2 separate regions of the Homo sapiens genome follow, and region 1 is linked to region 2. The links are contacts of gene promoters, found by promoter capture Hi-C in blood cells and fetal thymus (Javierre and others, 2016). All regions are on one chromosome and are shown on one strand. The core of a region is centred on a gene start or on the middle of the fragment in contact, and the rest is flanking DNA. Distances in the headings are between cores, read along the strand shown. Region 1 has its middle 24 kb from the start of PSD2-AS1. Region 2 holds the start of NRG2 (neuregulin 2).

Region 1 (5,453 bases), core at 1,901-4,400, 270 kb before region 2:
ACCACCATGCCCAGCTAATTTTTGTATTTTTAGTAGAGACGGGGTTTCCCCATGTTGGCCAGGCTGGTCTCGAACTCCTGATCTCAAGTGATCTGCCCACCTCGGCCTCCCAGAGTGCTGGGATTACAGATGTGAGACACGGCATCTGGCCCCTCCTGTCTTTGTAAGCATCAGTTTTCTTATTTATAAAATGAGGATCAAAACTCTACCTACTTCCCAGGAGAGCTGTAAAGATTCAGTCAGATGAGGATGATATTGGAGAGAATAATAACAATGATTGGAGCTGTTAATAATGTTAACTGAGCACTCACTTTGTGCCAGGTGCTGTGCAAAGTGATTCAGCACATGCAATCCAAGAGGTTATATACCAGCTTGACAGAGGTAAGGCTCTTGCTCAGAGGCTCTCAGTGATGACCAGCTCACAGGCAGAGTGACAAAGCCCCTACCAGGTCTAGTGCCTGACCCCAGGGCACCAGGATGAGTTCCAGAGTCCTCTGCCTCAGCTAGGGCTGGAGGCAGAGAGAGGGACAAGAAGACCTTGAGCTGTCCCCTGTGCAGTGCTCCCCTGTCCCCTGGGCCTGGCTCAGATATCTGGCCCCCCGCCAGGGAGGGCAAAGGGGCTGGTTGATGGAGGTAGCACGTGTCCCAGCCTGGGCAGCTGAACCTGGGGGCCTTGCCCCGGAACCTGGAACCTTTCCTGCAAAGGGAATATCCTACAGCAGGAAGGAAGGAAGTGGGGAGGGGGAGGAAGAGGAGGGAGAAAGGATAGGACAGGCCCCAGCTGGGAGAGAGTTCTCTCCCAGACAGGCCAAGAAAAGAGGACCTCTGGACTCCAGGCTGAGAGGCCAGTGGGCTGGTCACCCTGGCTGCGGTTTAGATGTGTGTAGTGGGGGAGAGGAGGGCATAAAAAGAGAATGTGACCCACTCACTGCCCTCTGTTTCCTCATTTGTGTAACAGGTATAAAAACACCTTCCTTGGCCAGGCATGGTGGCTCAAGTCTGTAATCCCAGCACTTTGGGAGGCCGAGGTGGGTGGATCGCCTGAGGAAGGGAGTTCGAGACTAGCCTGACCAACATGGAGAAACCCCCGTCTCTACTAAAAATACAAAATTAGCTGGGCTTGGTGGCGCATGCCTGTAATCCCAGCTATTTGGGAGGCTGAGGCAGGAGAATTGCTTGAACCTGGGAGGCAGAGGTTGCTGTGAGCCGAGATCAAGCCATTGCACTCCAGCCTGGGCAACAAGAGCAAAACTCCATCTAAAAAAAAAAAAAAAACAACACCTCCCTCCCTCCTGGGCTGGATGGGAGTAAAAAAGTGAGGTCAGGAATGTAAAGAGCCAATCGGGCCTGCAACATGGTGGGTGCATCATGCCTCTCAGTCCCTCCACCCTGGACTAACTGTCTGATCTGTAAGACAAGACAGTAGCTCATGCAGAGTCCAGACTCCCACAGCCTGTGAACTCATGCGTTCAGTCAACAACATTATTGAGCACCTACTACGTGTTGGGGTCTGGGGCTATTGCCCTGAACAGGAGCCAGTCCCTGCCCTCATGGAATTCTGTCATTGGTGGAGGGTAGGGGAAGATGAGTCACCAGGCAGTGATGTTGGAGAAGCACAGGGCCTGTGACCCAGCCTGGTGGGTTGGGGAAGACTTCCTGAAGGAGGTGATATTCATGCCAGGACCCAGAGGGAGTGTGCATAGTCTGAAGAAGGAGCATGGTGGGAAGAGGGCTCCAGGCAAAGGGAAGAACAGGCACAGAGCCTAAGACCCAGGGCAAGCAGGGCTACGGCTGCAGCAGAGCAGGTGGCGGCGGGGGTTGGGGGAGAGGAGGACGGGCCTCAGGCCTCAGGGATAGGGCTGTGGGTATTTTCCTGACAGCAAAAATCCAGAGAAGCTTCTAGACAGGGGTGGCATGGTCAGAGTGCGATAAGTCCCAATGGAGGGCACTCAGGGCCTCCATGTGACCTGCTACCTCTATGCCCTCATCTCTCCCAGCTCCTCTGTGGGGGGCAGCCAGGCTGTAGCACTTGTGGCTCCTCAGGCTTCCCACCTTCCTTCATTATAAAGACTTCTCCCCTGCCTGAACTGCCCTCCTGTACTGAACCTCACCTATGGGCAGGGGACTGTGGTGGCTTGAGTTCTCATCTGTCCAGCACTTGCCCAGCCCTTCAGGGACACACCTTTGTTCCCTAAAGGTGAAGTGAGTCATAGATGCCCCACCTTCACCTCCTACCTGGCCATGGGTGGCCTTGTGACCCAGGCTGGGTCAGTCATTGCACTTCGGACTCAAGACACTGATGGTGGCAGTGGGGGGCAGTGCCCTGAGTTGGGCCAGCCACAGTCCTCCTTGGAAGTTTCCATCTGGCTTGCGGTGAGGGTGGAGGTGGGGCAGCTTCATTGACGTGGGGTCACACAGGGCCCCATGCTCACCAGGGCCTGCTTACCTTAATGCTCTGCTGTAGCTGTCTTGAAATGTCTCATAATTTCATCTTTGAACTTGTGTTTTGTAAGTGGGGTCCAGTGGGACAGTGGAGCATGCGGTACACAGAGAGGTAGAACCTGGGTGTCATGCGGGCCGGCTGGGGCTCCTGTGTGCATGCAGTGCTGGTGATGCCCGTGAGCACAGGATTCTGATGACCCCACCACATGTGGGGGCTCAGCAAGACTCAAAGTGAGTGTAAGGTAAGCTTGTTATGTCTACAACTGAGTAAGAGGAACGCTGACAGCCCTGAGGGACCTCACCATCCATTTCAACCAGAACTTGCCAGATGCAAGAAGAAGGCAATTGTGTGCTAAGAAACATGAACAGGGCCTGTCTTGGTGACTCACGCCTGTAATCCCAGCACTTTGGGGAGCTGAGGCAGGTGGATCTCCTGAGGTCAGGAGCTCGAGACCAGCCTGGCCAACATGGTGAAACCCCATCTCTACTAAAATACAAAAATTAGCTGGTCGTGGTGGCAGGCGGACTATAATCCCAGCTGCTCAGGAGGCTGAGGCAGGAGAATTAGGAGAATTGCTTGAACTGGGGAGTCGGAGGTTGCAGAGAGCTGAGATCGCGGCACTACACTCCAGCCTGGGCAACAGAGCGAGACTCCGTGTCAAAAAAACAAACAAACAAACAAAAAAACATGAATGGCCCAGGAACCCTGCTATAGCCTTCTTCCTCATGTTATTTCGCTGGATAAGCCAACCGCTGACACTAATCATGATGAGCTAGGACAGGGACAGATCAGGCAACCTGTAGTTCCTTTCCTTTCAGCCCCTCCTCACACATCATAAGCTAAAAGCAGAGCATGTTGAGAGAATGTGCATAAGTCAAGAAAAGAAATGAAAACAGTTGAGTAAGTTTTGTGCCCTTTCCCACCATTTCAGGTAAGATGAAATACACATGTGTGCACAAGGTACTGAATACAAATTATACGATTTTGATGATTCTGCATATGAGTTAAACACCCTTATATTTGCATTTAAAACTGACATTGCACAATAGAAAGATGAATAGTAAAATTCATGCTAGTCATTTAGATTTTTCATTTTTCTTTACTTAAAATGATATTTAACAAATACAAACTCATGACAAATCTAGAGGCAGACCAACAGAAAAGAAGCGAAGCTTTATATATCTCTAGGTACAGATACATAGATACTTTTATATTTTAGCGCCTTTATTATTAGGCATTTCCCTCCTGCTTTTTGAACAAGAAGCTCCACATTTTCATTTTGTGCTGGGTCCCATGTTGTGACTGGCCCGGGTGGCGGAGTCTCTATTTTAGGGTGAGGAATTGCGGGCCTGGGGACCCGGGGCTGCCCCACCCCTGGGCACTCCCTCTGTGGTGGAGCCGCCGTGGTGGGTAAGGCCCTGAATAGCCTGAGCGCAGGAGTGCAGGCAGGAAGCAGGCCTGCTTTCTTTTCTTTTCTTTTCTTTTTTTTTGAGATGGAGTCTCACTCTGTCGCCCAGGCTGGAGTGCAGTGGCACAATCTCGGCTCACTGCAAGCTCCGCCTCCTGGGTTCACGCCATTCTCCTGCCTCAGCCTCCCGAGTAGCTGGGACTACAGGCGCCCGCCACCACGCCCGGCTAATTTTTTGTATTTTTAGTAGAGATGGGGTTTCACCGTGTTAACTAGGATGGTCTCGATTTCCTGACCTCGTGATCCGCCCACCTCGGCCTCCCAAAGTGCTGGGATTACAGTCTTGAGCCACCGCGCCCCGCAGCCTGCTTTCCTTTCTATAACATTCTTCCCAGCTGGTGCAAGGTCTGGCTGTCCCTGGAGTCTGGCTCTCTCCCTGGTGTGCCACAGGCTATTTAGGGTCTGGGGCAGTGTAGCGCATATGGGGAAGTAAGTTCTCTCAGACTTCAAGATGCTGTTGCCCCTGGCCTTGGGGGGCATCTTCACTGACCACTGGGCTGCCATCCAAGGACCACGGTCCAACCCCTTCCAAGGGCAGGGCCTGCAGAGGGGCCTCAGAAACGGTGTTGCGGGACTGGAGATGGGCTTCTGTCTCCTCGCTCCCAGCACCCTTCCCCAGCCAGGTGAGGGAGAGGTAGTGGGTTCTCTCCTTGGCTTGCTCTTAGGGGACAATGAGAGGAGGAACGGAAAGCCCTTGGCAGGGATCAGTTAGCAGCCAGGCCTCCTGTGCGAGGCCCTCTCCCTAGAGGCAGAGGGAGTGGGAGTGGGAGTGGAAGGGCAGCTGGGTGGGAGGAAAAAGCGTCCCCAGACTGGGTCCTTGAAGGCAGCACAGGGGGCATTAGATCCCTCCTCCCGCTCTATGACTTTGACTCTAGTCCCAGACCCAGCAGCTCAGCCAAGTTCTCTGAGCCTGTTTCCTTCTTTATATTGTGGCTAATGACTATACCTGCCCCAAGGACTGTTGAGAGCATTCTCCGAGCCGATCTGTAAAAAGCATTTGGTGCAGAGCTGGGCACTTAGAGGTCTCGGTTCATGGAGCCCCTCCTCCCCTGCTGTGAAGAGGAGGTTGGTGATCCAGTGAGGCCTCCCTGCTCTGCGACCAGGAACACCTTCTGTCCCCTCTCCTTCTCCCTGTCCCAGGGCCTCCTTCTTTCATCTCTCCTCCTCGTCCCCTCCTTTTCTCTCTGCTGTTCCTCTAGCATGCCACACTCATGCCCAGCACAGGGCCTTTGCACTTGCTGTTTCTTCTGTCTGCAGCTCAGGTCTCCTGGATGCTTGATGACTGACTCTTGATCATTCCTTGGGTCTTTGCACAAATGTCACCTCCTCTGGGATGGTATGCCTGACTGCTCCAGTTGAAACTCCTCCTCATGCAGCCACTCTGTTACATTTCACTTTTTAATTTTCTGCACAGCAGGTAATAGGTGATAATATTCTTGTTTATTTGTTTGTTCAGTATCTTTTTCCCCTCCCCGCAGGCTGTGAGCTCCAGGTGAGTGGGCACCTTGTCTGTCTTGGTCCCCAAGTCTTCAGTGACTAGCA
Region 2 (5,672 bases), core at 2,222-4,721:
CGACAGTTTCCAAGTGCCAGTTTCCCTATTTTGCAATGGGCAAATCTGCTCCAAGGAGAAAATGTTCCCAATGACCCTGTGGCCCAGAGGGCTTTCTTTAGAATAGAAAACAGAAAATGAATTTGTTAGTTATTTCCTGCTAAGCACAAGGACAGTGTTGTGGTTAGTTAGGATGATTTTGTTTCCTTATTTAATATAGCATTACCAGTACATGTTTTCTTTAACCACATAGTAGAAAACAAGAAAATGCAGTTTATGCTCTTCTGTTATATTATCACCAATTCCACAAGTCTCACAAATATGTCCTTTAATTTCTAATCCCCTTATATAAGGCTCCCCAAAATGGTACCTATTTATATACTTCCCTTTGAATATCAATTCAAAGCAATTTTTTTTTGCATTCTAAAATGTTTACTGCCATACACATTCCTGATCCTTGATAATTTGTGATATGTGAGGGCCCTTCCTTTACCAGTGATTGCAGTTCTAAATGTATCTTTTTAAGAACTATACTACACATGCTATTTTGATAATATGAGATGATCATAACCTAGAAACAGACCATATTTCTGCCCCTCAAATCTTTCATGATTTCTGCATTCAACTGTTAAGCTACTGAATACCCACTAGAACAAACAATGTGTAATTGATAAGGTGTATTGTGTTGGGGGAAGGAGAAAGTAGGAGGAGGGAGACAAGGGAGCAGAGAAGCCAGTTACTCTATGGGGTTATCTGACAAAGACCATCAAGTCCTCAGCGGCCCAGACTAGGGATTATGTGGAGATGTACACTGTGCAAATGCAGGAGCAACTCACCAACAACCAAACAGAAGCTGTCCTTGGACAAGATTCAATAAATATTTTTACTATCTATTTTCCACTGTACAATACTGTTTCACAGCTCCCCAAGGCATCTCAGAGTATTTTAATACTCCCCAAGTATCAAAATACTTAATAGAATAAAAAATTAGAAATTCTTAGCTGGTCTCTACTTGTCTTTATAAAACATTTCAGAACATAAAACCAATAATAAAAAGCAGTCAACAATATTCCTAAGGATAATGTCAGAGCGATAAACTGCTGTTATCCCCCAAAGTTTTCCCCTCCTTATTAAGACATTGCCAAGATTCTTCTCATTAAAGTGATCACAGTTTAACATAGTTAGTGTCTAGATATACTCCCATCACTAAACTCCTAAAATTTGCCTCCTGAAGGGGGTGGGGGAGGAAAGCTTCCAAAAATCATAGGTATCGATCTAGAAAGATGAAGGCAGCAAAACTTACTATAAGCTGTTACACATATTTTGCTACTCAAACAAAGCCTGTCTACACTACCCAGAATCAGTTGGTAAAACTGGTAAACATACCAACTTCTATGAGAGTACAGGACATCTATCATAATTCAGCGATTACACAGTCCAGCAAGTCATACCGCATGCCAACAAATTCAGCTTTAGTTGGGACAAAACGAAACCTCAATTTGAATAAGCACGAGACAGGCTTACACCAAATACTCCAGTGTGGGACAATTTGATTTGAAATATCTTACTAAGAAGTAAGTACTGGATTCAGGGACAAGAAGAAAAAGCTCTTAGACTGACATTTCTTTGACTTTTGACATGGGAGACTTCCATTCCCAGCTGCAGAGATCTACAGATTTCAGTGTTTTGTTTCTAATCACCTGCATTCCTGTGCAGCATCCAACATCATGAAGATGAGAGATGCAGTCAAATACATCCGGCGAGTAAGACGTTAGAGCTGAACTTAAAGCATTCAGCAGAAGTTACTCTCTTTCATCATCATCACAATCAACAGACCTTGTAATTCCCCCAGAAACAGCTAAAAAAAAAAAAAAAAAAAGGTGTCTGCTTGCTAGTCTTAAGAGAAGGATGTGCTACCTGCTTAGCAAAGACAGGCAATCACGATGAAGAAAAAAACTGGAGCCACATGGAGGACGGAAAACAGTAGCAGAAAAAGTCCAACTCTGCCTGCGCCAGCGGTGTGGATGAGCAGAGCAACGAGCCCAGGAGAGGAAGGAGGGGGCGGGGGCGACCATTCCCTAGGAGAACTTGTAAGCGGAGGCCTTCACAGCCTGGGAGTCTGCCCAGCTGCTCCCGCAGACCCTGCCAGCCTGGGCACGGCAGGCCCGCGGCAGCAGGGCAGGCAAGGCCTCCGAGGGTCACTCCTGACTCACTGAGCCTCAGGCCAGCACCGCCAGGACCTCTCCGTTTTTCCTTCCGCTACTGGGCTATGATGGCAGCTTTCCAGCCCCACATGCCATACATCAGCCGCAGATCCCCGCTGGCACAGGCCAGCGCCTCCCTCCGCCCCCCACCCCTGGCACACTTTGAGCCTGATCCTTCTTCTCTCCAACCCCAACCCCCTCACCCACCCGTGCCAGGCGCCCTGCCCAGGGGCGGCCCCACCCCCCCAGCGCCCGGACGCTGCCAGGCCCGGGCACCTGCAGCACCTCCCCGCCCCACCCCCATTCTCCACCACCTCGCCCCTCCCCCCTTTCTCCAGCAAAGGGAGGGGGCGACTCACCGCAGTCAGTGCACAGGATCTTGCCCACCTCTTTCTTGAGATTTTTGCCGTTGGTATCGAGGGGGGCAAAGGCCGTCTTAAAGACTAAGGGCTGTTCCGTGGGCTCCAGGAAAAAGATGTAGCGCTGGTTCCTTTCGAGCGGCACACAGGAGCCCACGCTGATCACCTGCTCGCGCTGCAGCCCCCCGCTCCGGAGCGGCCACTTGTCCAGCACCTTTACCAACGCCACCCGACCCGAGGCGGGCGGCTCTCGGGTGCTGTTGGAGCTGGAGCCGCCGGCTGGGACCAGCCCCTGTACCTTGCCCTCCACCACCACGGGTGCCTTGTACGCCTGGTCCTGCACTGACTTGAGGCTGGGCGAGTAGCAGGCGAGCGACACACCGAAGAGCAGCATGGAGAAGCCGGGGGCCGGGTCGCGCCTCATGCCGCCGGCGGCTGCGGCTCGCGAACGGGCGGCGGCTCTCCGGGCTGCGGGGCTGCGGGGCTGCGGCTGTTGCTGCGGCCGCGGCTCTGGGGGCGCAGCGGGACGAGAGATGCTGCTGTTGTTGCTGCTGCTCCTGCTGCTGCTGCCGCTCTCGCTGCTGCTGCTGCTGCTGCTGCTGCTCCTCTCGCTGCTGCTGCTGCTGCTGTCGCTGTAGCTGCTGCACCGACCCTTCTCCAGTGGCGGCGGCGGCAGCGCTGAGCAGCAAACCTGCCGCATCTGGCCAGGCCATTTGGGGGGCTCCGCCGCTCAGCCGCCGCCGCCTTGGGAGGGGAAACAGAGCCCGCTGGAAAACCGGAAACAGCGTAACGTTAGCGCCTCTTAGCCCTCCACCGGCAGCCCGGGGAGGTGGCCCAGCTAGGGCAGGGGGCAGGCGGCAAGCGGGCCGCGATGCGCAGCGCGGCGCAGCGCAGCGCTCCCACCCTGTGCGCCAGGACCTGGAGGAGGATGCGGAGGATGGGACGCCCGCCCACTTGCTCTCTCGCGCCCCCTCTGCCCCCGGACCGAGTAGGGAGCGCGGCTTCTGCAGGGGAAGCTTGGGACTGCACTGCTTTAGTGCCCGCCTTCAGCCCGCAGGGGCGCGGGAGGAATCGTGCCACCCTTTGCTCCCGGGATTTATCGGCATGACAGTGGGGGTGGTGCGTGAGGAGAAGGCGAAGAAGAGATAACGGGCTCCTGGCACCATCCTATGAACGTGGTAATGGGACGCAGGGCGTGCCCCCTGCCTTTGGCCAGCAGCTGTAGGAGCCAGAGAGGTTGCCATGGCCAGGGTGGCCGGCCAGCCTCTCGCCTCTTGGGCTGTCCTCTTTCCTAGGAGGACCCTGGAGCCCAGCCCCTAAATGATACCACGTGCTCGGTCCTGCCACCGCCTGGTGAACGCTGGATATTCGACTTGAGGTGGGGGAGAATCCCAGCCCCGTCATTTTGGAAAGAGTTGGGCCACAAGGTGTCTTGTCTTAGCATTGAGGACACCCAAGCAGAGGTGGTAGCTGAGAAAGGGCCCAGTCCCCAACACTCTGGGCTTTCTTCAGCGGCCACGTGGGGATCTGGCTGAGCACTGTACAACCTCATCTTTTAAAAATCTGATCTCTAAGAAAGGTGGGGGGCTTCTTGGGAGCCAACAGAGAGCCAGAGCCTGTCAGGGCCAGAGGCTGCTCCATAAAAAAGGTTTTTTTTGTTTTGTTTTGTTTTGTTTCCAAGGCTGATGCTTGCAAGAGGCAGAAGAGTTTGCTGCACTGGAGCCAGCATCTGATTTAAAACACACACACACACACACACACACACACACAGGTCCATAATCCATTAGCCTATCAATGAGGGTCCAGGGAGTTTTCAACACCCAGCTTTTAACCTTGAAGGATGTGGAGCTCAGGAATGCCAGTGAGCTCTTGGGGAATTTTATACCGCACTGGGCTCCACAGGAAACTGGTCCAAGGATGAGTGACTTAGGCTAGGACTGCTATTCTGGAAAGGAAGTAGAGAGAGCTACACCTTTCCTCCTAGCTAAGAGACATCTTAAACTCAATACATCCAAAGCCAACATCATTATTTCTTCCACTTCACTCCAAATCCCCTATAATTATTAATGCCACTGTTTTATTCTTTTAGACTACATCAATCCATTACAATAAGTCCCTTCATCTCATCTTTTATTCTTCCTCATCCAATTAATCACCAAGGCCTTTGGGTCTCTCTTTTAAAATAATCTCCAATTTATCTACTTCCACTCCAACTCTGCTGCAAATACCTTAAGTCCAAGCCCTCATCATCTCTCACCTGGACAACTTCTAAGCCTTCTAACTGGTCTCCACTCCTTTCACCTCATCACCTATCTCCAGTCCTACCAATGCCAGAGTGATCCTTCTAAAAATAAAATGTAAGTACAATTTGGCCATGCTACTGCTCTCAGAAGTTAAGTTCAAACTCCTCAGCAAGGCTCTTCATGGGCTCCCTTTGCCTAGCCAGCTTCATATCCTGAGAGCCAACCCCCCACTCTAGCAATCCTCAGCACTTCATGCTCTTTCTTGGTGTGCTTCTGCACATGATGTCTCTTGTGTCCAGAAAGCCTCACCTCCACCTTGACCACATGGAAAACTTATTTTCCCAAGGCCCAGCTCAGCATTATACCGCATCCCCCTTCCTACATATCCACCTCTACTCCCACCAACACATACATGATGGAATTAATCCCTTCCTCCTCTGTATTGCCATGAGCTTCACACATAGTATTACTGTTGGGATACTGGCCCATACCGTATTTCAAGCAGCCATTTAATGGGTCTGCATCTCCCATCAGGCCAGGCACGTTAATGTCAGGGACTATATATATCCTATTCATCTTTGGATTCCTATTACCTCCAACACAATGCCTGGCATAAAATAAGGATTAGCAAATCTCCAGTGAAAGAAGGAGAGAAGGAAGAAAATAACTGAAAATCGGCACGCTTAAAGGCATCAAGCCAATCTTCTTGGCTCCTTCAGTGTCCCCCATTTCATTTTCATAGATCACAGACCTCATAAATCACAAAACATCACCATAAGGAAGATAGCGACATCCACTCTTTCATTTTACAATGAAAGAAAAAGTCCCAGAGGGGATAGGGGACTTACTCAACATTTCACACAGCCAGGACTGAACTCAGTCTTCTG

What was found. Contacts are between HindIII fragments. The CHiCAGO score rates a contact against its expected background, and 5 or more counts as called.
Region 1: a contact is called between a fragment that was not itself captured here and the fragment with the promoter of NRG2 in region 2, in 1 of 17 cell types (M1 macrophages). The highest score is 5.2, in M1 macrophages.

Annotation. Positions count from the first base shown.
Region 1 is chr5:139,767,464-139,772,916 of GRCh38, forward strand. It overlaps a transcript of PSD2 not described here. Among named protein-coding and RNA genes, the nearest start is that of PSD2-AS1, 24 kb to the left of the region's middle. The HindIII fragment of the contact is 926 bases long and covers 2,688-3,613 here.
Region 2 is chr5:140,039,828-140,045,499 of GRCh38, forward strand. It overlaps NRG2 (neuregulin 2), which reads right to left and starts at 3,472. Exons shown (of 10, transcript NM_004883.3): 1 at 2,543-3,472. The coding sequence starts at 3,242. RefSeq lists enhancers at 1,375-1,564, 2,937-3,606 and silencers at 2,905-3,114, 3,275-3,614. The HindIII fragment of the contact is 2,328 bases long and covers 1,229-3,556 here.